6 separate regions of the Homo sapiens genome follow, and regions 1, 2, 3, 4 and 6 are each linked to region 5. The links are contacts of gene promoters, found by promoter capture Hi-C in blood cells and fetal thymus (Javierre and others, 2016). All regions are on one chromosome and are shown on one strand. The core of a region is centred on a gene start or on the middle of the fragment in contact, and the rest is flanking DNA. Distances in the headings are between cores, read along the strand shown.

Region 1 (3,948 bases), core at 1,427-3,926, 460 kb before region 5:
GGCACATGCCTGTAATCCCAGCTACTTGGGAGGCTGAGGCAGGAGAATCACTTGAACCTGGGAGGCGGAGGATGCTGTGAGCTGAGATCGTACCATTGCACTCCAGCCTGGGCAACAAGAGTAAATCTCCGTCTCACCAAAAAAAAAAAAAAAAAAAAAAAAAAGTTATGCTTAGGACCTCATTGGATAGAATTAACATTCTATAACCTATAACACTTATTTCAATGGGGTTAAGTTTACTTGGGGGTACTTAGCATAGGATAGTCAGGAAGACTTTTCTGCATTTTCTTATAATAATGATGGTGATATCAGAAGTTCTCACTTCCAGCCTGCTGCTGTAAGTACTCCCTTGAGACATCCTTGACTGGGTGACCTGGAGGAAGCAGATGGACTGTTCCCAGGAGCCTGAGGTGCACATCACTGTCAGTTTCTGCCCTGGGCCATGAAATCCCAAACTGAAGTCCATTGGCCCAAACTGGTGACTGAGTCACACAGGATTGTTTACCTGACTTTCCCTCTTTTCTTATTTTTATTCTTTTCTCATCTCTTGTGTAAAAAAATGAAATATACTTTGGGAGGCCAAGGCAGGAGGATTGTTTGAGTCCAGGAGTTCGAGACCAGCCTTGGTAACACAGTGAGACCCTGTCTCTACAAAAACTTTAGAAATTAGCCAAGTATTGTGGCATGTTCCTGTAGTCCCAGCTACTCAGAAGGCTGAGGCAGGAGGATCACACAAGCCCAGGAATTCGCGGCTGCAGTGATCCATGATTGCGTCACTGCACTCTGACCTGGGTGACAGAGTGAGACCCTTTCTCTAAAACAAAACAAAAACAAAAAAACCAAATGTATAAAAATTGTTATTTCAAAATAAAAACAGAATTGTATAAGGAACGCCCAGGTACACATCACCCAGCTTCCCAACTATTATTCACAGCCAGGCATTTCCTACCCTCACTTCCTTACTTCTACTGGACTTTTTGGAGACATTTGAGGTAAATCTCAGATGTCATATTTCTGCTATAAATATGTCAGCATGTGCCTCTAAAAAATACTAACTCTTTTAGAAGACATAACCACAATACCTTTATCCTTTCTAAAAATATTGACAATAAGTCCTTAATATCATCAAATATCCAGTCAGGTTTAAATTTCCTCAATCATTTTATAGGTGTCATTTTACAATTACTGTGTTTGAATCAGGATCCAAACAGGGTCCAAACATTAATCATTTTAATCTATAAATGCTCCTTCTCTTAAGTACATTTTAATCTAAGATGCTCCCTCTCCTTTTTTTTTGAGACAGAGTCTTGCTCTGTCGCCCAGGCTGGAATGCAGTGGCACAGTCTCAGCTCACTGCAACCTCCGCCTCCCGGGTTCAAGCGATTAACCTGCCTCACTCTCCTGAGTAGCTGTGATTACAGGCGCGTGCCACCATGCCTGGCTGATGTTTGTATTTTTAGTAGAGACAGGGTTTCACCATGTTGGTCAGGCTGGTCTCGAACTCCTGACCTCGTGATCTGCCCACCTCAGCCTCCCAAAGTGCTGGGATTATAGGCATGAGCCACCGCACCCAGCCTCCTTTTCTGTTATTCACTAAGCCAGGTCATTTGTTCTGGATTTTGCTGACTACAACCCCATGGTTGTGTTTAATAAGTTGCTTTCTTCCCTGTACTTCCTGTAGGTTGGGTGTTAGATCTAGAGGTTTAATCGGATTTGATTTGTGTTTTTGGCAAGAACACTTTATAGGTGGCATTGTATACTTCTGTAGGAAGGCATTTTGCTTATCTCTTTTTTTGTGATGTTAGCAGCAATTAATTATCACTGTCTAGAATATTTTCTTTCTTCATTTTTGATCACCCCTCAACCCAACCATCAAGTTACACACCCCTTCAGACCCCCTCCTCACACCAACTCTCTCCTTTGTACTGTTTCAACTGATTAGAAAATGATTTACTTGAGGCCGGGTGTGGTGGCTCATGCCTGTAATCCCAGCACTTTGGGAGGCCAAGGCGGGTGGATCACCAGAGGTCAGGAGTTTGAGACCAGCCTGGTCAGTATGGTGAAACCCTGTCTCAACTAAAAATACAAAAAGTAGCCAGGTGTGGTGGCGCATGCCTGTAATCCCAGCTACTCTGGAGGCTAAAGCAGGAGAATCACTTGAACCTGGGAGGTGGAGGTTGCAGTGAGCTGAGATTGCGCCACTGCACTCCAGCCTAGGCAACAAGAGTGAAACTCCATCTCAAAAAAAAAAAAAAAGTAAAGAAAAAGAAAATGGTTACTTGGTTCTAAATTCATTTCACAGATACAGTCTCCATGGGAAATAAACAGAATGCTCATTAACCTTCAGTGTATGTACATAGAGTTTTCTAAGTTCCCACTTACAGCAGCTATTTTTGGCTGTGTCCTGTTTTAAGTGCTGGTAGGGCCTCCTCCCACTATAGGGGCTGATCAGCCACTCACTATTTGAAGCCTGGGTGTTTTCTGGGGAGCTCTTTCTCCTCATCATAATGAGGACACTCTTGTCCTTTGGCCTTCAGGTGATGTATTAGGAAGTTATTAGAGCTGCAGTGGCCCTCTTCTGACCATAGAGGCAAGCTTTAGGATTAAAACCGATGTGCCCAGGATGATGGGTTGAAATGTGGAAAGAGTCTAGGTCCTCAGTAAGACACTGAGTCACTGAATTATTAAATAGGAGAATTGGAATTTGTGAATTTTCTCTCTTGCAACAAAACAGTTCCCGAGTTTCAGACTGAATGTACAAGCTTAGCAAGCAGAGCCAACCTGCAAATGCCCTACCTCCACACTTCTTATTCTAGGGGATTATGAATTTAATCTACTTTAGTTGATTACTTGCAGCTGCAAACAACCAAGCAGACACAGTGATTAAATACAAATAAATCTATTCTATGTTTCTGTTTACTATATATTTAAAGCTTTGATGGAGAGAAGAAGCCAATGGAAACTGACCTTGAGTTTTCCATAAAACTGAACTCTTCCTTGATGACCCTAATAGAGCTAAAACTATGATTGAGATTGCACAAAGCATTGAATCATCAAAAGTAACGTATTATGATGTCATATATTAAATAAACTCAGCTTTTGGTAGGATATAAGTTGAAAAAGCACACAGCAACTTAAAAGTGGAGATGGAGGCTTAGAAACTTCTATGTTGGTGAGAGGAGGTGGAATTAGAATATTTTCCAAGGATTATTCTCAAAGCACATAACTGAGAATTGACTTTGAGTGTTGGCAATAAAGGAAGACTTTTCTCCTATTACGATATGCTAGACATAACATTCTTATTAAAGTAAGGAGGAGAATTGGAGTTTCTGAATCTCCTCCTTTGCAACAAAACAGCTCCCCTGTTTCAAATTGAATGTACAAGATTAGCAAGCAGAGAGATGAAGATTTAAGAAAAAAAGTATGGGCTGGGTGCAGTGGCTTACACCTGTAATCCTAGCACTTTGGGAGGCCGAGGCTGGAGGATGGCTTGAGTCTAGGAGGTCAAGACCAGCCTGGGCAACATAGCAAGACCCTATCTCTACAACAAATACAAAAATTCACCGAGTGTGGTGGCGTGCACCTGTAGTCCTAGGGACTTGGGAGGCTGAAGTGGGAGGATTGCCTGAGTCTGGGAGGTCAAGGCTGCAGTGTGCTGTGATGGTGCCACTGCACTCTAGCTTGGACAACAGAGCGAGACCCTGTCTCAAAAAAAAAAAAAAAAGAAAGAAAAAGAAAAAAAGTATGATGTTCAAAATCTATTTAAGAGGGAGCCATAGAGCTTGAGAAAGCAGAGGATAGCTGATGATCTGCCCTGTTCTTGCTCCTGCTTCTTATATTTTGCATTCCCACATTGTGTTGTATGGAAGCAAAACATCATTGTTTTACTGGTGAGTAGATTGCACCTTTCTCCTTGCAGACAAGGTGGTGACAGCAACCGGTTCCAGG
Region 2 (3,841 bases), core at 493-2,992, 320 kb before region 5:
GAAAAAATGACTTAATGAATGCTGCTTGAAGACTAAGCTAGGCTAGAAATGTTACAGTGATCTTGGGGAAAAGGGAGAAGCGAGGTAGATAGAAGGATGTTGAGATGCCAAACTAGGACAAACTAAGCAGGGCACAATATCATTAAATACATATATTTGCTTACCATTTCATAACTACCATTTTGGGACTTACTTTGACCTCTAAATTAGCTTAGTGGTGCCTTAGAACTTCCCCTCTTATAACAAGCTTTTTTTTATTGTAATTACTTGTTCCCCAGTAGATAGTAGCCCCAGTCTAGAGGGAGAGAGTAGGCAAAGGGACCTGCCTGCCTGGCTCACCGCAGTCTTCTCAGCTCCAGCACATTCTCACTATTCATTACCACTTGATGAATAAGTGAGATGCTTTTACAGAGTACCTCATTGAATTCTTACAGTAACTTTGTGATTTAGATATTTGTCTTCATTTTACAAATGAGAAAACTGTGACTCAGAGAGCTTAGGTAACCTGCCCAAGACCACTCAGCTTGTGACCTTCTAAATCCAGATTATTTTGATGCTAACACCCTTGTTTTAACCACTATTTAATACTGTCTCTTGGCTTTACTTCCTATTATTGTTCCCTCTTTTGAGCTTCTGCTGGTGTGAATGACCTGAATTGACTGGCATCCAGATTCCTTGGTGCCAAATAGCAAAATAAAAAAATATTGTTTCTATTGTTGGAAGGAATTGTTGAGGTTCAGGTAGATCTGGCTAAAGGCTGTTTAACAGCCTGGGTTTTCTCTTCTGCATCAATGCAGGGAGGAAATGGAATGCTATGTGGGACGACAGCACCATGCTAGGCCAGGGATACTGTGAAGAATCAGGATGTGTTGGGAAGGAAGGAAGGAAGGAAGCTGCTTTGCACCTAAAAAATGCTCAGCATATATTTAATAGATATATCCAAAACTGAAAGGACTGAGCTCTTGAGAGCTAGATATTTTACTTATTTACACTACACCGTATTCCAAAAAAAGACTTAAGACAGTAAGAGTTGAACAAGATAAAATTTAAACTTTAGTCTGAGATAGCAAATTTAGTAAATATTTTCACTTTATCATTTTCTTCCCTTACTAAAAATAGTTCTCATTCTAAACAATTCAAATATTCCATAAGCATAAAATATAGAAAGTGAGTCTCCTGCAATCCCATTCACCAGAGATAACCACTAATGGTAGGGTATATATTCTTCCCTGTGTCTTTTTTTCTATGTATTTTTATTTTTCTTCATCAACAAATATTTAATGAAAGCCAGGTGAATGTGATTATATTGTACATCATCTTCTTCTAATTTATTTTTCTTTTTCCGCTAAATAATCTATTGCATTCATTTCCTGTTGCTGTGTAACAAATTACCATAAATTTAGCAGCTCAAGACAACATCCATTTATTATTTCATGGCTCTGTAGAAGTCAGGACATGGTGTGATTCAGTTCACAGGTATCACAGGTGGGCTGAGTTCTTATGTGGAGGTGCTGGAGAAAATAATCCACTTCCAAGCTCATTCAGGTCACTGGCCCCTGTGAATTCAATTCCTTATGGTAGTGGGACTGAGGACCCTGTTACCTTGTTGGCTGTCACCTGTGGGACTGCTCTCAGCTCCTAGAAGCCACCTGCATTCCTTGCAACATGGCTTTCGTCTTCATAGCCAGCAACAGAGAATCTCCCTCATGTGGAATCCCTCTCATACTTCTAGTCTCTTTTGCCTGGAAGAGCCTAGTTCCTTTTAAGGTCTCAGCTGATTATGCTAGGCCCATTGAAGATAATCTCCCTATCTTAAATGCAGCTCCAATCACATCTACAAAATCCCTTCACGGCAGCATCTAGATCAGTGTTTGACTGAACAAGTGAGAGAAAGTGTGCATACACCAGGGGATGAAAATCTTAGAATTCTGCCTACCACAGGTAACAAGGGTTGTCTTTCCATTTCTCTAAATATAAATCAACCTCATTCTTTTTTAAGAACTGCATAGTCTTTTACTGTATAATGTGTCATAATTCAACCAAAGCGCCTCTTAGTGGACATTTATGTTACTTCCAGTTATATGTCTTTTAAAAATTCATAATAAACACTCGTGCTCTTAAATGCTCATGCATCTACATTCTTCTTAGTATCCTGACTCACAGAAGTAACTTCCATTAGGTAGTCAGAATTGCAAGATGGAAGTGTTTGCACTTTTTGATAGATACTACTAAATTGCTCTCCAAAATGTTGGTAGCAGCCTGTACTTCCAATGACAATATACAAAAACGGAAGTAGCTAATTCTTATAAAGAAATTCCCTCATAGACTGTTTCATGCGCAATGGTTAAGAGCATCAGTGCTCAGTGAGGTTGTCTGGCTACCAATCTTGCCTTTTTGATTTCCAGTGTGACCTAGGGCAGGTATCTAAGCCTTAGTTTCTGTATCTGTAATGAGGACAATAATAATGGCACCCCCCTTTGTATTCATTTTGTGTTGCTGTGTAACAAACTACTCTAAAACTTGTGACTTACACACTTATTGTCTCCTAGTGTCTGTGGGTTAGGAATCTGGTAACTAAGCTGGGTGTTTTTGGTTCAGGATCTCTCACAAGGCTGCAGTCAAGGTGCCAGCCAAGTCTCAAGGCTTGACTGGAGGATGAGCTACTTTCCAGTTCACTTGCATGGCTGTTTCAACATTCAGGTCTTCACTGGCTGTTGGCTGGAGAGAGCAGTTCCTTGCCATGTGGATGTCTCCCTGGGGCAGCTCACAACATGGCAACTGTTTTCCCTCAGAGTGACTGAGCAAGAGGGGACACGTGAGATGGAAGCCACAGTCTTTTTGTAACCTAACTTGAAAGTGACATCACATCACTGTGCTGTATTCTACTCATTAGAAGCAAGTCTCTAAATACAACCCACACTTAAGGTAAGAGTGTGGCACATAAATATGAATATCAGCTCGCCCTGGTGATTGAGGTCATCTTAGAGGCTTCCTTCCTTGCTCTTCACTAAGGGGTCGTGGGCCGAAAGTAAGTTAATGCATGTCAACTAATACAAATAGTGTCTGACTTTAATAAACACTCAAGAAAAGTTCATTGTTTTTGTTGCTACCATGACTATCATCATCATTGTCCAGTACTCTCACCCATGTTCCTGTTAGCATCACATTAGGAACCAAAAAGTGGCTAACTAAAGCTACTGTTTGGATTGTTTGGCAGGCAGTCTCCATCAGGAAACAGAAAGCTTCTCAAATGAGGTGCTATAGGAAGGCTTAGTAAAGAAATTGTTTACAAAGGAGTGTAGGGAAAGGAACAAGGGATGGTGCCACGCTGCAGAGCTAGAACGGCAGGGGGCCATTACCACCCTGGGCCTGAAGAGGAGGGGATGTGAACCAGAACTTGGGGAGGGTGGCTTCAGCTCTAGGAATTGCAGCCCTAGATAAGGCAAGAATGATGACAAGCCATGGTGACCCAGTGGAATGAGGGAAAAAGGGGTAAATACCCTGACTTTATTCCTCTCCTGCCAGCTCGCCCATCATGTGAGCTCACTCAGGAGCCAGAGGACAGGAAACCCACAACGCTGTCCATGCAGATCAGCCTCCCTGGCCTGGAACAGGTGGAGAATGGTGACAGTGGCCTGGAGGGGTGAATGGAAAACATCTGGCTTGGGCAGGCACAGCTCCTCCCTAATGGGACTTTCCTGGGAACAGGATACCATGGTTCCTTCATATAAAAGAGGGACTGAAAGGCAGTTAATCCTGAGTTTCCAGGATTGTGGGCAGGGAGGGGTGGTGACAGGAAGCATACCTCCAGAGCTGTTTGATCCAATCATTGATTCTGGGT
Region 3 (4,350 bases), core at 248-2,747, 380 kb before region 5:
CTTCCACTCTTGTGCTCCCACAGTCTATTCTCAATACAGTGGCCAAAGGGAGCTGTTAAATTTAAAGTCAGATCATTGTCTCTTTTTGGATCAAAATCCTCCCCTCACTCCCAGACTCTGGGGGGAAAGCCAGAGTCCTACCATGACCAACATGGCCCTCCAGGATCTCACCTCCAAATTACTGGCTCCATGTTACTCCTTGAATACTCCAGGCATGTTCCGCTTCTGCGTCCTCAGGCTTTCCCCATGTGGCTACATGGTGAATTATCTCACCATTTTCTCCATGACAGCTGCCCTTACCAGCTCACCTACACCCATCCTCCACCACTGTGCTCTGCTCCTCCTAGCCCCGCTAGACTTCTTTCTCCACAGCATGTATCCCTTCTAAATTCCTAATATACATCACCTAGTATTTTTTAGATTTATTGTTTTTTGTCCACATCTTTTAACTTGAATATAAGATCCACATGGAAGATACTTAATAAATAAATCTGAATTAAGGGAAAATGCCAAACAAGAAAAACAAAGAGAAAAAACTTTGAAAACATCCAGTGTCCAAAAAAAGGTCTTATGATTTTCTTTTCTTTTTCTTTTCTTCTTTCCTTCTTTCTTTCCTTTCTCTTTCTTTCCTTTCTTTCTTCCTTTCTCTTTCTTTCTCTCTTTTTCCCTCCCTTCCTTCCTCCCTTCCTTCCTTCCTTCCCTCCCTCCTTCTCTCTTTCTTTCTCTTTCTTTTTTTTTTTTGAGACAGTCTTCCTCTGTTACCCAGGCTGGAGTGCAGTGGTGTGATCATGGCTCACTGCAGCCTTGACCTTGACCTGCTGGGCTCAAGTGATCCCCCTGCCTCAGCCTCCTGATTAGCTGGAACCACAGGTGAATGCCACCAAACCTGGCTAATTTTTAATTTTTTGTAGAGATGGGGTCTTCCTACGTTGCCCAGGCTGGTCTCGAACTCCTGGCTCAAGCAATCCTCAAGGCCATCTCGGCCTCCTAGAGTCCTGGGATTACATGCATGAGACATCACACCTGGCCAGGCCTTGTGATTTCTAATAGCAGGACCCATGTATTACATCTCATTTTTTAATTTTAATAATGTTTGTGGCATTTTGAAGAGGAGCAACAACAAAGTAAGCCTGACACTTAGGAGAGGCTGCTGTTTACCCTGAAAAGACCCCTAAGAGTGGCATTCTTGGGGAGGGGTAGAACACTACATCAAGCACAGAGCGTTATCATAGAGGTCCCCACATCTCCCTTTTATCTGGGAGCCAGAGGGATCAGACTCAGAATGTCTGAGTAAAAATTCACAAGAGGCTGCTGGGCACCCCGGAATCTACAAAAAAATGCCATTTCTTTCCAGTGACCATGTCCATTGTCCAGAATATACCTTTCTGAGCTAATGGTACCCAGGAAGTTGACTTAGCATTCAGAATGTGGTTCAGGGGTGTTGGAATCAGTGCTAAGGATGGCTAACCCTTCTGAGGACTGCTTAATCCATGCCGTGGTGAGCCCTGATAATGCATCACAACAGACACTTCACAAAAGATCTTCATCCATACTTACCAATCCACACTCATGTCCACAAGATTCAGGACCTATTTTCCAGGCCAATACTGGGCAACCATTGGAAATTTTTCCTCTCTGCTCCATGAGGACCAGTTCATTGCCCACAACCTTTCTCCAGGTAGGATGGATTAGCTTTCTACCCACAAAATTCCAACCATATGGCTGTGCTGTCTTCCAGGAATTACGTAGAGCTCACTTTGCTGGAGTTCTGGAAGTTCCTCAAATCTTCAATCTGTTACTCTACTCCCATTAGGCACAGATCTGGCCTCTGTAGATCCCAGAGGTGCACCTACTTTCAGATTCCCAAGTCCTTGGGGCCCTTCAACATTTCCCCCTTATGTCACCAGTGTGTAGCCAGGGGCCTTGTTCTGCACCCTCTACCATCATTAATGAGCTACTTTGACCATAGACAAATCACCTAATCTCTCTGGGCCTTAGTTTCCAAATCTAAAAATAAAAGGATATAACTCTCTAAGGTCCCTTCTAGTTGTAAAAAATCCAAGATTATTTTTTTCCTACCTCTTTAAGATTTAAATGATGACAACAGCATCTTTCCTAAACTTTTCCTGAGGCCAGATGTTCCTGGCACTGAAGTAGAGGAAAAAAATAGTTTTTGAATAACCTAACATTTTTGCCTTTTAGAGAAAATTATCCTCTGGCCTTTTTAGTTCCCCTTCCCTTACAGCTACCTCCTTATGGACCCTTAAAGGAAGTCTTTAAAACATAGAGAGGCTGAGGCAGGAGAATTGCTTGAGCCTAGGGGTTCGAGACTGCAGTGTGCCATGACTGTACCTGTGAATAGCAACTGCACTCCAGATGGAGTTCGGCAACATAGTGAGTCTCTCTCTATCAAAAAAAAGTAAACTATTTATCCTTCCTGATTCATCAGGATCTTATAAAAAACATTGTTATTTTCCAAATTATTTTTCTTACATAAAACCTCTTAAACAGTTTTATTCTGATAACTATGCTCATCAGCCTTGACTTTCCTCTGTTTTGCAGGGAAGGCTATTAAATGCTCTGGGGAAGAGGAATAAAAAGCTCAGAGACAGGGCCAGGGAAGGAAGCATGCTGTCCATGTAGGTAAATTCTGCCCTGAGCTTTCACAAGGTGATGGGCATGAAATGGCAGAGGCGAAAGTAGGGAGTGGAGAGAAGGGGAAAAGAAGAGGGAAGAAGAGAAAGTCTGAAAGCATATATTGTTTGCTTAGAAAAAAGTTTTAGGAGAGGTCTGGTGGCAGTTCAAGAATGTTCACTTAGTTAGATGACTTCTAAACTGGGACTTGCCTAAGAAGCCACACTGCAGGGAGGAGGCGGAGGTGGAACAGCAGTTCTCTTCCTTTAGCAGCCCTCCATCTAGCCTTCCGCGTAGCAGGCTGGTGAGGTATTGAGCAGCCCCTCTATTGGCCCCGCACCCAGTTTTCAGAAGTTAAGTTCATTCTACAGGTCTCTAAATGCTTCAAGGACGACCAAATCTATCCATTGTTGGCCTGGAAATCAAAGAAGACATTCCAAATCTTCACCATTCAGTAAAGCAGTGACTTACTGAAAGAATTACAGTTTACTAGCAAACCCCCCAAATGAATCTCTATGTATAATACATGCATAACTTCCTAGTCTGAAGATAGCAGTATTCCAAATAATTGTAGGCTCCAAGATATCACTTAGTGACTTCTAATTTAGGAAACATATGCTCTAGAGAATTCCTCCCATTATACACACACACATACACACACGTATATTTGTGTGTGCGAACACATATCCTACTATAACAAATGACTCTGTTTTTAAGCCACTCTAGGTTACAAAACAATACAATGAGTTAACTTAAAATATGTCATATTAAAATCTGGGCATGAACGCAACTAGAAAGGAAGCCTAATTCATACCAGAAAATATCAAAACAAAGTCTGGTAAGTGTCTAGCTAGTTAGACAGTCTCAAAGCAGTAGCTTCTCATTAGCATTGAGAAATAACAATCTGAGTGGTAATGTGAATACCTACTGTGGAACTGGTACTGGATGTTGTATAAGCTGGGAACAGATGCCTCTTAAATTCAGTTTGTTGCACTATGACAGGGTTCTACTTCAAGGACTCATCTTTTCCCAGTTTATTCTTTTCCAGGAAAAGCTTTCTATGCACTTTCATAGACAAATGCAACTCTTCTTGTCATTTTCTGGTTCCTTTTTTTGGGAGAAGGGGACACTTAGAGCTTTTTTTTCCCCTTTAAACAGCACCAACCTTCTGACTGATGACGAAATAGAGGGAAATTGAAATGGCAGAGTAAAAAATCAATCAGGCACATAGGCAATCCCTTCCCTGGTAGAGTTACAGAGTATACATTAGTATTCATGATATTTTAGTTAGGAGACAACATCTCCAGCAAAAGAATCACCACACAGCACTGTGTCAGGCCGTCTATCACATCTTTCCTACCACTTCCTTGCACAGAATCTGTAATCCAAACACCTACCATGGTCACCCCTCCAGAATAGCCCCATTGGTCTTGCTCCTTTTCCTGGGACAACAGCCCAAGTCCCCTCTGCATCCTTACTGCTCAGAAGCAAGACATGAACATTTTGTTTGAGGCATTCCTGAAGAAAAATGATAATGATCTTATAATATGAGGTATCTTCAAGTTTGTGTTTTGGGAGGAAGAGTGGTATAAGAAGACACAATTGCTGGATAATTCTCAGAAGCCAAACATAGAATTACCTATGATTCAGCAATTCCACTTCTGGGGACATACCAAAGGAACTGAATCCAGGATCTCAAAGATATGTGCAAACCCA
Region 4 (3,928 bases), core at 458-2,957, 420 kb before region 5:
GGTAGCTCTGCTGTGGAAGAAATAATCTGATAATAACTGACAAGAATTACTTCACCTAACAGGATAAATCATATAAGACTAACAATTTCTAGAAGTGTATGCAAAATTGTTTCCATATAAAATTTAAAAATTTTGCTATTAACATCGCCCTTGTCATTCAAACACTATTCATTGATGAATGACACATTTTGGAATACTGCACTTCACAGGACACGTTTACATGGTACTGAAACTTTAGAGGGACTCCTGCACTATCAGACATCACCCATTACTGTTCTTTTTTTTGTTTTTTTGAGATGGAGTTTCACGCTTGTTGCCCAGGCTGGAGTACAATGGCACGATCTTGGCTCACTGCAACCTCTGCCTCCTGGGTTCAAGCGATTCTCCTGCCTCAGCCTTCCAAATAGCTGGGATTACAGGCATGCGCCACCACACCCGGCTAATTTTGTATTTTTAATAGAGATGGGGTTTCTCCATGCCTCAGGTGATCCCAGCCTCAGGTGATCGACTTGCCTCAGCCTCCCAAAGTGCTGGGATTACAGGTGTGAGCCACTGTGCCTGGCCCATTAGTGTTCTTAACCTGCAACATCTGTCCATCTTTCAGAAAGAGAAGCTAAAGCTGAGGATTAAGCTTTCAGATTATTTTTTCAGTAATTAAACTGTAGGACAGGGCTGAGTTATCACACATAACCATGGTCAACATTTTGACATACAGCCCAGGGAAGTTTCACATGCAAACAGATACAAAACTGTGGATAAACACTGCTGCTTGCAAAGAGCTTGTGACAGCAGTATAGGTGTCCAGTTGAGTGTGTGGACAAGGGCCTGCACTGGACTGTATCTTCCTTCCATCAAGGAAAGCACATTATTAAACATCATGGAAGAGAGAAGGACTAACACTATTTCCATTAAATAAGAGAAGTGGACATTGAAGAATACAATTCTTCAAGGTTTCCACTAGTGGATTCAGGAATAGGTCTAGACTGTCCAGCCTCCTTCAACAGAGCCCTAGGCTCCCTCTTGCAGTGAGGAGAACCACAGGCCTCTGTCCTAGAGGTCAGCTCCTCTGGCCTCATACCAGGGACCATGATTCAGATGGCTATTGGAGGGCTTGGAGGGCTGAGGGATTAGAGGGAATATATTATAACCACATTCGTTTTGTGGGCATTTTGACTTACAAGTCAGACTGTGTCAAGAGTTAAATACCTTAGTTCCTTTTTTTTTTTTGAGACAGAGTCTTGCTCTGTTGCCCAGGCTGGAGTGCAGTGGCACAATCTCAGCTCACCGTAACTTCCACCTCCTTGGTTCAAGTGATTCTTGTGCCTCAGCCTCCCGAGTAGCTGGGACTACAGGCATGTGCCACCACACCTGGCTAATTTTTGTATTTTTAGTAGAGATGGGGTTTTACAATGTTGTCAAGGCTGGTCTTGAACTCCTGGCCTCAAGTGATCCACCCGCCTCAGCCTCTAAAAGTGCTGGAATTACAGGTGCGAGCCACTGCGCCCGGCCATAGTTCCTTTTTGAAAGCAGTGCATTCTCACTCGCAGCACTTTGCCCGGTAACAGAACAACATTCAAAGGCCTTATCTAGGTCTTTCACTTTTCCTTTTTCCTCCCAAACCAGTAGTCCACCTAACTCTGATCCTTCTTCTTCCTTCTCTACTCATTAGGTATTTCTCCCAGAAAGTTCCCTGAAGCACTTCTAATCCTTTACTTTGCAAAGATTCTGCCTCATTATTCACTTGTTGACAAAGATCCATCTGGTGATTTTGGAAGGTCAGTCTATTTCCTGTTCCGTCCAAATGGGATCTGTAGTCTAGGATGAATCTTGGGGACATCTGGCAGGCAAAGGAAGGGTCTAGGAATGTGAGGAGACAGGCTTAAGATCTACTTATTAATTGCCAGTAGAATTCTAGTCATGGATTATTTTTTGTCCTGTTGTAAATGTTAATAAGTAGCTTTGTTCCAGAAAGTACCTCAGACTTAGGTGGGTTGATAACTGAAGTTGTGACCTCATTTTCTTTCTCTCTAAGCTCCTAATAATTGTATCTTACACTTGAATTACACTTTCCAGACAACAAAACATTTTACAGGCATTATCTCATTTGAAGCTCATGACAAACTTGTGAGGTCAATAGAACATGTATTATCATCTCCATTTTAAAATGAAGAAAACAAGGCTTGGAGATGGTACAGGATGGATGTGCCAGGTCTTGAACCCACAGCTTTTGATTCCAAGGCTAGGGCTCTTTCCATATTTTATGCTGCCTCCTCATCTGTGGTGCCAGGAGCAATGGGTTAATCTCCAGAAAGTGTTGTGAATAATGCAGAGAATTGCTGCTGTGTATGTCTTGGACAAAGAATTATTATACTGGCTTCTTGCAGCATTAGAGGGGAACCCAAGCCAAAGCTGCGGCCTACAGGGAGTGATACAGTCCCTTATTTTGCTAGCTTTGCAGCTGTTGTTAACCAAAAAATAAAATAAAATAAAAATTGAGTGGTGAGGGTAGGGTTGATTATTAGGCCATAAACTGTTCCTCTCCATGGTAGATAGCCTTTTTTTACTTACTGTCCAGTATTGGTGCACTTCTGTCATTGGTGACCGTCTTCTTTAGTTTCTTCCCTTTGCTGATATCAGAAAGGAGAGCATTTCTCCCAGCCTGCTCTGTCTTATTCAAGGTAGGCTTCTCTGTATTGGCCTGAAAGGGAGCCATACAAACAAGTAGTCATCTCTTGGGTTAAAATCATGCATTGTAACACTCGGCTGGGAAAGGTTGGGTACGGGAAGCTTGTTGTTAAGGTTCTTGGTGATAGGTTGTAAATTCTCGACAAGTTTTAGACCCCATATCTTTCTTTTTAAGATCCAGACGTTTGGAAGCAGATGCAGCAATAAATTATGTTCATTTTTAAGGGAGGAAGAGTCAGTCCTTGATTAAAGTCTCTGAAAATTCAGACCACAATCTGACTGAAACTAACAGGGCCAGGTTAGGGTGAGATGACTAGACACGAGAAAAGAATTTTAAGTCTGGGAGGATTCTGCAGGACATTACCAGACGTCATTCACTAGAGGGTACCCTGAAGAATAACTTCCTTTTCCCATCTTTTAGAACTACCCCAGTGCAAGGGAAAAACTGTCTCTAGCAAAAAGAGTCAGCTGTATGTTTTTTAAACCCACTAAAGTTCTAGAAAATAATTCCCTCTGTGTATATTGCCAAAGATGCTTTTTTTCTCTTTTTAAGTCAGATTTATTAAGGTGTAATTTACACATAGTGAAATCACCCTTTTTAGTTACAGCTCTATGAGTTTTGACAAACATATACAGTTGTGAAACCACCGTCACAATCAAGATATAGAATATTTTCATTACTTCAAAAGTTCCCTCATGTCCTGTTGGCATGAGGTGTTTCTGATGTTTAATTCTGATGAAAGCTTAGCTCATGGAAATTGTGGAATGGACAAAAATGCTGCTTTAACATGTCTGATTATTTTCTTATATTTCCAGAATTCCTAGGAAAGATCCCTACCTACTATGAAATTGGGATCTTGTTCCTTCAGGGAGTTGGGGACACTAAGAGACCAGCAAATGGACTTAGATGTAGGCACCTGCCTGTGTGCCTGTGTCTATCACACTTGGAAACTGGCTAGGTCTTGTCTGTCTCAGGGAGAGTCTGGCTGCCCCAAACCCACAGGTCCTTTCTAGGCTGGCCCCAGCCCTTCTGACAGGGATATGATTTCAGATTTGCCAGTTAGGGCCACAGGAGGAAAAGCTGGGGAAATGTATGGCTCAATACCTTACCCAGCCTTTAAAAAACAATTTTTTTTTAGAGACAGAGTCTCATTATGTTGCCTAGGCTGGAGTGCTGTGGCTATTCACAGGTGTGATCATCATGCAATACAGCCTCGAACTCTTGGGCTCAAGTGATCCTCCT
Region 5 (4,234 bases), core at 1,218-3,717:
TTTCTTCTAACCCTTAGGTACATCTCTCAACATACACAAAAAGCTATTTTGTATTGGGCGAGTTTGACCCAATCTCCTAGCATTTATCTTGAATACAACAGTTCTCAAACTTGAGTGAGCATAAGAATCACAAAGGGAGTCACTTTAAAATCCCCTTCCCCCATGTCTTTGGGCAAAAGAATCTACATTTTTAATAGACATCCCAGATGACTGATGAGTGGTGTACAACCACTTTTAAAAACAGCTGCTGCTCTATCACTACTTAACAAATAGCCTCTGCACTCAAGAGTGCTTTGTTTTATAACACAGAAACGTTCACACTGTAACAAACTGGATTTTGGGAAGTGAATTCTATTTTCCCATAAGTAGACTTTAAAATTTTAAAGATACATTATTCATTTTGAAGGCTGGGAGTGATTTCTTATACTTTCTTCTATAGGCCACATTCCATGCTTTTCCCTTCCTCATCTTCACCACAGTGGTTAAAGATTTAGAATTTAGAAATCCTTTTAAAAGAGCATTTTTCACCCCAATTTATCTTTTTTATTCGTCAGGAATGCGAGTATTTGAAAAGTTGACTTGTAAACCTTACTTCTGAAACCACACCTTGAAAATGCCAAATATCTCTTTAGGAAAGAAAATGTTTGTACCAAAAAGGTCCACATTTAAGGAAAATGCTGCTATTAAATAATGCTTAGATACAAGGTACTGAGAAACAGCGAGAATTTTATTATTTTTCAGAAAAAGAAGACACTTTTTTAAAGTACCTATGGAGGATCATCACCAAGTAAGAAATGGCACTTCTAGTAATGCACTTGGGCACAGTAAACACAGTCCCAGACTGAAGCCTGGTGAAGTGAATTCTAGGCTCAGTTTTGCCACAAAAGAGCCATGTGACTTTGGGAAACAACCTCTCTGGGTCTAAGTTTAATTTATAAAATAAGATAGTTAAATAAAAGTAACACTTTGATTCTAGCAGCTTAATTCACTGGGAAGTATTTACCTCAAAAAGCATTTGAGGTATGTAACACCTCTAACGTGTTTGATCAAATGACATAATTAAAACTGAACTGGAAACTTGATATTGTGAATAACTTACTTAGGCTGTTCTCGTAGCTATCAATTACATATCATTGTACTTTGCTTCTTCAAAAAAGCTGAATACTTTGAACGTCTAATGTTCACATATTGAGTTTTCTTAAAGTCAGGTACGTATGTACCATAGTCGTTTTGTAAAAGGAAAGAATGTATCTTTTCAGTCCTTTTTCCCAACCCATTGTCATTGCAGACTGAGAAAAAAACAGCTTGAAGTCTTAACCACCAAAAGCAACAGTGCTGCAGTAATTACACCACAAAAATAACATTTCATTCTTAATGAATACTCAGTCTCCTGAGATTACAGTTATCTTCTGGTAACCAACTTTATTCTGTCTGCTCTCATTCGTTAGTGCAAACATTTTCAATTTTAACCCATATTCAGTTCACAAATCATACTTATTTCCAACGGAATATACTGAGTCCAAAAAAAAAATTCCCCAATAGTCCAACAGGAAGCAACACATGCATTTGGCAATTCCAAGGAGGCTGGGGACTCACAGATACCTCGTTCAAAATAAATAAACTTTCCAAGGATTTATTTACCGACGGGAAAGGCAGGTTTGAAAACAACCAGTTAACTTCACTCCCAAGTTGGCATCTTAGAGAATCTTTGTGCGTTTGCAAAACACCCAGGACCTCTGAGCCTCCCAGCCGAGAATTGGCCAGGGGAGCACACGCCCATCGGCCCTGCCGGGAGAGGAAACAATGGGAGAGGCGCGAGGGAGCAAGCCGGCGCCCCGGGCGCCCCAACTCTGCGGCCCCGGCCCGCCCCGACCCCACGCGCCGCGCCCCCTCCCCGGGCGCCCAGGCCCCCCAGGCCCCCGCCCCCGAGCCCCGGGACGCGGCCCACCTGCGGCGGCGCGGGGAGACGGCTGCACTTACCAAACAGGGTCAGGGCCATTGTAAAGGCGCTCGCCGCCGCCCGCGAGTCCAGGCGCTCCTCCCAGGCGGGCTAGGGATCACCTCATCAGCCCGCCGCACCCACACCTCGGAGAGAGTGGGGTGCCCGATGGGGCGTGCTGGGGGCGCCGGCGCCCGGGGAGGCTGCAGGCCGGGACGCGGGGGACCGCTGCAAGAAAAAGTTATTCACGCGTTATTGTCGGGCGCACCGGGCCCAGGGAGCCCCGCTAGCTCTCCGCGAGCCGGCACTTGTCGCTGCCATCAGGCGCGGAGCGTGCGCGCGGGAGGAGGTACCTGCGAGGCAGGAGGCTTGGCCGCGGCGCAGTGGCTGGCGGAGAGGCGGCGCCGCACTGGCGGCGGCGGCGGCGGCGACGGGGAGAGCAGCAGCAGCCTCGCACAGCCCCCGGCGGGGCGCGCTCACTCCGCATCCCGCGGCCTCGCAGACGCCATCTTGCGATAGCGTCTCCCACGAGCTCGGCCGCGCCGCTGCCTCCCGCCTCTCCCTCGGGCTTCCCGGTCGAGTGCGTTCCCATGGCAACGGGCGCGCGCGGGGGTAAGAGGGTGCGCCCTCATTCCCGCGGCTGCGAGGAGCCACCAGCGCCCCCCTGGAGGCGGCCGCCCGGAGCGGGATGGAGCGGGGCCGGTGTGCGTTTTAGCTGAAAGCCCAGGTTTTTTCTTGAATGGAATTTGAGGAGGCGCAGAGAGGAGAAAAACGCTGTTACTCGAAAGAGGAAGAGTCACAGGAGGATGCTGAGTGAACGCAGCGCCCAGGCAGGGTCATCTGGGGACCTGGTGCGTGTGAGAACATATTTCTTCTCCTGGCGCCCTCCAGGCTCACTGTGGCTGGAGCCGGTGACCTGAAGCTGCAGGGCTCTGGTAGGAACAGAGGCACTGAAAGCTGCATTCCTCTCCGTTTGGACTTAGGAGCTGCTAGTAGTTCTGATGAAATTGACACACATTAGGAAAAGGAGTCGCTTAAAAAGCATCTGAGATTACCTAAGATAATTTGTTAAAAGACCAATGCTTACACCTGATTTTCTTCCCTTTACATTATACCTCTTTGATATTGTCTCAAGGAAAAAAAAATCAGCATGTGTCACTGACTGGCACTTATTTGCCACAAAAGATTGTTCCCCTGAGCTTCTTGTATTTATCTGATAATCACTGGCAACGTCCTCCTTTCTGTGATGTTGTCTCCTCACCTCTGTCTCTGCCATGAGGAGCCATACAACGCCTTGAGATTGTCAGCCAAAAGATGTTCTTGAAAAGCTGGGTTATATGTTTTTCGTCGTTGTCGTTTAATGTATTCAAAAAGTCATTCTTCTCTAGTTGCTATATGTGTTCCCTGTTTAAGAAATTCCTTCTTTTTTCTTGTTTCTCTGCTTAGGGATTTGATACTATTTTGGTATCTGATCATGTAGATCTTCTCTTTGGTTCTCCTTTCTTTCTACAGGCGTCTTTCCTCTTAGTTCCTCAGGTTCCCTAGTGTCTTCTCTCCCATTTTCAAATAATTCTTTAAGAATATTATAGAAATATCTTGTATTTAATGTATCTTAGAGATCGAATCCTGATAAAGTGGGAGATTACTACAGTACTTCCAATGGAACCACAGTTAATTCACCATCATTATTTCAAAGCAGACTTAAGCATCAGAAGAAAAGCAGGTTGGAAGGAGGAGCCAAGCCTTTTGTTTCAAGTCAGTTAACTCAGGAAGAAAGAAATATTAAAATGATTCAACATGAATGGGCAAGTGTTTAAGATGCTATATGTTTGGAATTTTGTGATGTAAAATGGCTCTCTTTAGCCACTAATCAAAATACATCTTTAAAATCCCCAGAATTTAAAATCTTTCATGAAAATGGACTCTTGATTTTGAACAACCTTTCTGCTCATAAAAAATTACAAACACACAGCTCATGAAAATAAATGAGAAACTCAAGAAAGCTTTGTGGGATAGATTTTATAACCATATAAAGATTGCTGCTAATCTGCTCTGCAGCCAAATAAATCAGAAACCGAAGACTCCATTTACTGTTTCAACTAGTGGTCTTCAACATTTTTGGACCAAATTTCCTTTTGAGGCTCTAATGAAAATACTGTCCCTCCTCTTAGAAAAGTGCTTGCATACATACACACATTCACCGGAAATTTTTCACATAATTTCAAGGGGATTATGGGCTATTCAGGGACCTTAGGTGAGCCCCTGGAAGTGTTTTTTGTAATCTCAGAAAGTTTT
Region 6 (4,182 bases), core at 1,157-3,656, 340 kb before region 5:
AGTTTCCTCAGGCCTGAAGTTTCCTGGGGAAAAAGGCAAAGTGGCCTTTGGCCTCAGGAGAGAAGCAGTTCACTTTGTGTTTATCAGGATTTTTCTGTGAAGTTCCCCAAACCCACTGGCACGCCCCTGCCATAGCATGGGAAAGCAAATTGCACGAGGGATTCCAGATATGAAAGTCACTGTGGGAGGAAAACAGAGGAACACGCATGCAGGTTTTTTATCTTTTTCCATTTACCACCACCAAGCTCTTCTGTTTCGGGTGAGCTCAGCAGCACTAGTGCCTTGGATAATCTAGAAATTGCTTCCATATGCGGGCACAGGAAAGAATGTGCGCACTGGCTGCCTGAGAAGGAAGCTCTGGGCAGCCTCTCTTTCCTGCCAGAAAACATTGCTCAGGCCTGAGAGCCATAGAGCGTTGGAGCCAAAGGAGATCAGAGGAAGCAGCACTAACCTTCCCAATTTATGGATAAGGAAACTGAGGCCCAAGGTCACACATACAGCGACAGAGCTGGCAGTAGAACCTGGGGCTCTCTGGCTCTATCCCTAAGTCAGGTACTGTCTTTCCCTCTCCTCCCTGCAAATCCCTGCCTCCCTCACCAGCCAGCACACCCTTCTCTCCTCTCTGTCCCTCTGTCCCTCTCTCTCACACACACACACACACCCCAAGTGCTTGAATGAAGGGCTTCAATCTAATTTAGTGTAGCAGTATGACTGGTCTGGGTCTGAAGCGCCAGGCCTTGGGGCAGGACAACCAGAACAGAGCTTGCTTTTGAGAAAGCCAGCGCAGGGAGTGCGGAGGAGCTCGTTCACTCTCTGCACTGGGACCTGTGCCAGGGTCTCCAGGGCCCCAAGACCACTCCTCAGCCTCAATGCCCCCTTAGTGCTGGGTTAGTCCAGGACTTGAAACAAAGACTCCATTTAGGATCCAACAGAGAGTGGTCTGCAAGCACCCTCATCTCTACAGAAACCTACCACACAGAAACTTGGGGTGATTTAAGCCTGAATCACACCATCTTGAACTGCTGACCCAAGTGGGAAAACTCAGTGCAGTTTCAAATGAGCAGTAGGGGAAAACCAAGAATGCCCTCTCTTGTGTTCCGTGGTGGCCAGTGTCGGGCTCGGCCCACACCACTTTGACTTCTTGTCTCTAGGCCAAGAGCCAGGGCAAGCTGTCCCAGGGCCCACTTACAAGTCAAACCAGACAAACCTCAACCTTTAAAAGCTTGCTCTAGGAGGACCTGAAACCCAGATGGGGTCTGCAGTTCTGCTACATAACCTGAACTCTTCTGGGTCTTCCTTTTTCTCATTTTTAATTTTTAAATAGAGACAAGGTCTTGCTATGTTGCCCAGGCTGGTCTCAAACTCCTGGGCTCAAGTGATCCTTTCGCCTCGGCCTCCAAAAGTGCTGGAATTACAGGTATGAGCCACCGCGCCAGGCCTGGATCTTTCTTATCTAAACCATCATATCCCATATTATGTTAATGTTTTATTAACATTAATAATATTATATTAACAATACCACTATAGAAATTGATTACCAGTCTAGTTGCAAGTACAAGTATTCTCAGGTAACACTGTCTTTCAATACAGATTTATTGAATACTTATTACAGAGGAGACAGAGGAGAGGCAGACCGAGGGTATAACGCTGCATACATCCCTATAATATGGTTTCTCCTTTCAGAGAACTCAGAATGAAGGGGCCTCAGGTTACCTGCATCATTCTGGTTTTTTGCTCCTGTTTTACTACGAAGCAAACACCTCGACTATAAGCCGCCATAGACCAGGGTCTGTGTCTCATTCGTGTCTGGACAATGCATCACAGACACTCAACTGTTTTCTGCCTGAGCAGAATTAAGACTTGGCCTCCTAACTCCTCCATCACCATCTTCTCCACTCTCTTCCTTGGCCTTCATCACCAACACCACCTCATCAACCGTGAAAGATTCAAAGAGTAAGGAAAACCATTTCTAGGACCATGAAATGTGTCACTGGATCTCCTGCAGAAATCTGCCAGAGCTACAATGTGACTGGTTTCTACATGTCTGACAAATTTCTATTTAAATAAGTATTTTTCAAAATGCAAATTGCTACCTATTCTTTGGCCATCAAATCACTTTAGTGGGTTGCAACCGGCTTTTTCTTCTTAATAGAAAAGGAAATGTGTTGCATTTGGTAAACATGGAAATTGTTTTATAAAACTTTTGTTTTTGTTTCTGTTTATCTATCCTGTATACACTGGGTCTCAATGAAAAATGTATTTCTTACTGTAGGTCATAACCAAAAAAGGTTTCAGAACCCTGGTTTAGACAATGTGTCTTTCTACAATGGACTCTGCTCAGAGAGGCTCATTTGTAGATACTGCATGCAGACACCGTCCCACTTCATGTCTGTCATTCAAGTGGAGGAATGGGGCTCTACTCTGAGCATGCTTCTTTTGCTGTTGTTTAAACTCTAACCCATACCACTTGTAGCCTCTTAAATTTTCTCTCTTAAAAATATTTTGGGCCAGGTGCAGTGGCTCATGCCTGTAATCCTAGCACTTTGGGAGGCTGAGGCAAGAGGATCACTTGAGCCCAGGAGTATGAGACCAGCCTGGGCAACACAGTGAGACCTCATCTCTACAAAACTGAAAAACTTAGCCAGGCATGGTGGCATGTGCCTGTAGTACCAGCTACTTGGGAAGCTGAGGCAGGAGGATTCCTTGGCTGCAAGTGAGCCATGATTGTGCCACTGCACTCCAGCCTGGGTGACACAGTGAGATCTCATCTCAAAACAAACAAACAAAAATTTAACTCTGGCAAGAGTTGAAGGTATCCACCACTGTCTATTTTGCCAGCCCCAGGAATCTATACAATGTAAGGTTCCTTGCCTATGGCCTCCAAATTAGGACTGAGTTTATTCCTACAGTTTTTCTGTCTTGGGTCCTTTTGATGTACCTCAGGGGGTAAAAAAGGAGGAACTCACTGGACTGTCTTATGCAACCAGGGTCAGTTATGGCACACCCTGCCCTCTAGTTCCTCAAGCAAGCAAGCCATTACTGGTTTCATGAGAGTTCATTAGTTTACATTGGAGCTGGGACAGTAAGTTTAGAAGGTAAAGCCCATTCTGCACCCAGCTCAGTGCCTGGCCTACCTGCCACAGGCCCCTCCACATTCCTTGACCACTAAGAAGGAGAGCTGGAAGCCACTTTCTGCATCATCCAGGTTTAAGGCAATAGCCTGCACATGCCCAGGGGCCTGGCTTTGCAGGAAGCTGGCTGATGCTGACACAGAATGCTCGGTGGTGGGATGTGCCTCTAAAACTGCCATTTTAATCAAGGACAAGGCAGGGAGACCACAGACATGGGAATCAGAAACTTCTCAATTTGAATCCTAGCTCTGCCTCTAGTTTCTTGTTTAATTCTAGAAGGGTCCAGGCTCACATCAGAAAAACACAAAGAGATCCCTTTGCCCTCTGACTAAGAACAATGTCCCATGGATTTGAGGCTGGAAGGGCCCCATGGGCTTGGAGCAGCTGCACTCCCTGAAAACCTTGCTGTATCAGATCGGGTTTAAGAATGCAGTTGGTTTTGTTTTAGCTTCTGCTCCTCTAAGCTTTTTATTTTGTCCTTCTCTGGACTTGAAAAGAAGACCAGATAAACTGCCAGCACAGAGCTCACCACTGGGGCTGACAGTGAGCGAGGCCCGAAGGGAGGGAAGGAATAAAGCATTTCCCACCCTCGAACAGTCTACCAAGTACGGCACCCTCTTCCTGGGACTGGTCGAGGTCTCTGCAGGAATTGTAAAGAATTCCCCTCAAGTTTCTTTGGCCTTATAGTTTCAATTCTCCCAAAATGCTCTTCCTGTGGGTGGGATCATGCAAGATCAGGGCTGAAATCAGTCCTAGGCCAATGACACTTTACAACCCTTTCCACCTCCACCCCCGTCCCTGGGCTGTTTTGAAGTGTCTAGCTCAGAGGTGGGAACACAGTTCTGGACCTCTTCCAGCCCTAGGTTTCTGTCTCTATCTGATAAAGAGCTGATCTCCTCTCCAGTCTTGCCTGTGAGGATCCCTGGTCATTGTTTTGCAGGTACAAAGGTAACCTGTGGTCAACTTTCAGCTCTGATCCCAGGAGCGGCAAATCCTGCCTAGGTTGCTGGTGATGCAGAGCACCAGGAGGGGAAGCCTCTGCAGGCCACCT

Evidence for each region. Contacts are between HindIII fragments. The CHiCAGO score rates a contact against its expected background, and 5 or more counts as called.
Region 1: a contact is called between a fragment that was not itself captured here and the fragment with the promoter of CHN1 in region 5, in 1 of 17 cell types (total CD8 T cells). The highest score is 5.0, in total CD8 T cells.
Region 2: a fragment that was not itself captured here is called in contact with the fragment with the promoter of CHN1 in region 5 in 2 of 17 cell types (naive CD8 T cells and M0 macrophages); the score reaches 5.3 in naive CD8 T cells.
Region 3: a contact is called between a fragment that was not itself captured here and the fragment with the promoter of CHN1 in region 5, in 4 of 17 cell types (naive CD4 T cells, total CD8 T cells, total CD4 T cells and 1 more). The highest score is 7.1, in naive CD4 T cells.
Region 4: a contact is called between a fragment that was not itself captured here and the fragment with the promoter of CHN1 in region 5, in 1 of 17 cell types (naive CD4 T cells). The highest score is 5.3, in naive CD4 T cells.
Region 6: a contact is called between a fragment that was not itself captured here and the fragment with the promoter of CHN1 in region 5, in 1 of 17 cell types (naive CD8 T cells). The highest score is 5.2, in naive CD8 T cells.

What each region holds. Positions count from the first base shown.
Region 1 is chr2:174,540,326-174,544,273 of GRCh38, forward strand. The region is part of intron 1 of LOC124906097 (a long non-coding RNA gene); the gene reads right to left. All of the region lies in intron 1 of LOC124906096 (a long non-coding RNA gene), which reads left to right. Among named protein-coding and RNA genes, the nearest start is that of WIPF1-AS1, 33 kb to the right of the region's middle. The HindIII fragment of the contact is 167 bases long and covers 2,594-2,760 here.
Region 2 is chr2:174,686,220-174,690,060 of GRCh38, forward strand. No RefSeq gene overlaps it. Among named protein-coding and RNA genes, the nearest start is that of CHRNA1, 76 kb to the right of the region's middle. The HindIII fragment of the contact is 2,995 bases long and covers 246-3,240 here.
Region 3 is chr2:174,626,820-174,631,169 of GRCh38, forward strand. It overlaps a transcript of WIPF1 not described here. Among named protein-coding and RNA genes, the nearest start is that of WIPF1, 31 kb to the left of the region's middle. The HindIII fragment of the contact is 4,377 bases long and covers 1-3,686 here.
Region 4 is chr2:174,578,742-174,582,669 of GRCh38, forward strand. It overlaps WIPF1 (WAS/WASL interacting protein family member 1), which reads right to left. Exons shown (of 8, transcript NM_001375834.1): 3 at 2,569-2,698. All of the region lies in intron 1 of WIPF1-AS1 (WIPF1 and CHRNA1 antisense RNA 1), which reads left to right. Among named protein-coding and RNA genes, the nearest start is that of WIPF1-AS1, 5.5 kb to the left of the region's middle. The HindIII fragment of the contact is 2,156 bases long and covers 630-2,785 here.
Region 5 is chr2:175,002,914-175,007,147 of GRCh38, forward strand. It overlaps CHN1 (chimerin 1), which reads right to left and starts at 2,468. Exons shown (of 13, transcript NM_001822.7): 1 at 1,981-2,468. The coding sequence starts at 1,999. RefSeq lists an enhancer at 1,638-2,184 and a silencer at 2,169-2,228. The HindIII fragment of the contact is 4,598 bases long and covers 1-3,940 here.
Region 6 is chr2:174,663,494-174,667,675 of GRCh38, forward strand. It overlaps a transcript of WIPF1 not described here. Among named protein-coding and RNA genes, the nearest start is that of WIPF1, 68 kb to the left of the region's middle. The HindIII fragment of the contact is 2,373 bases long and covers 1,221-3,593 here.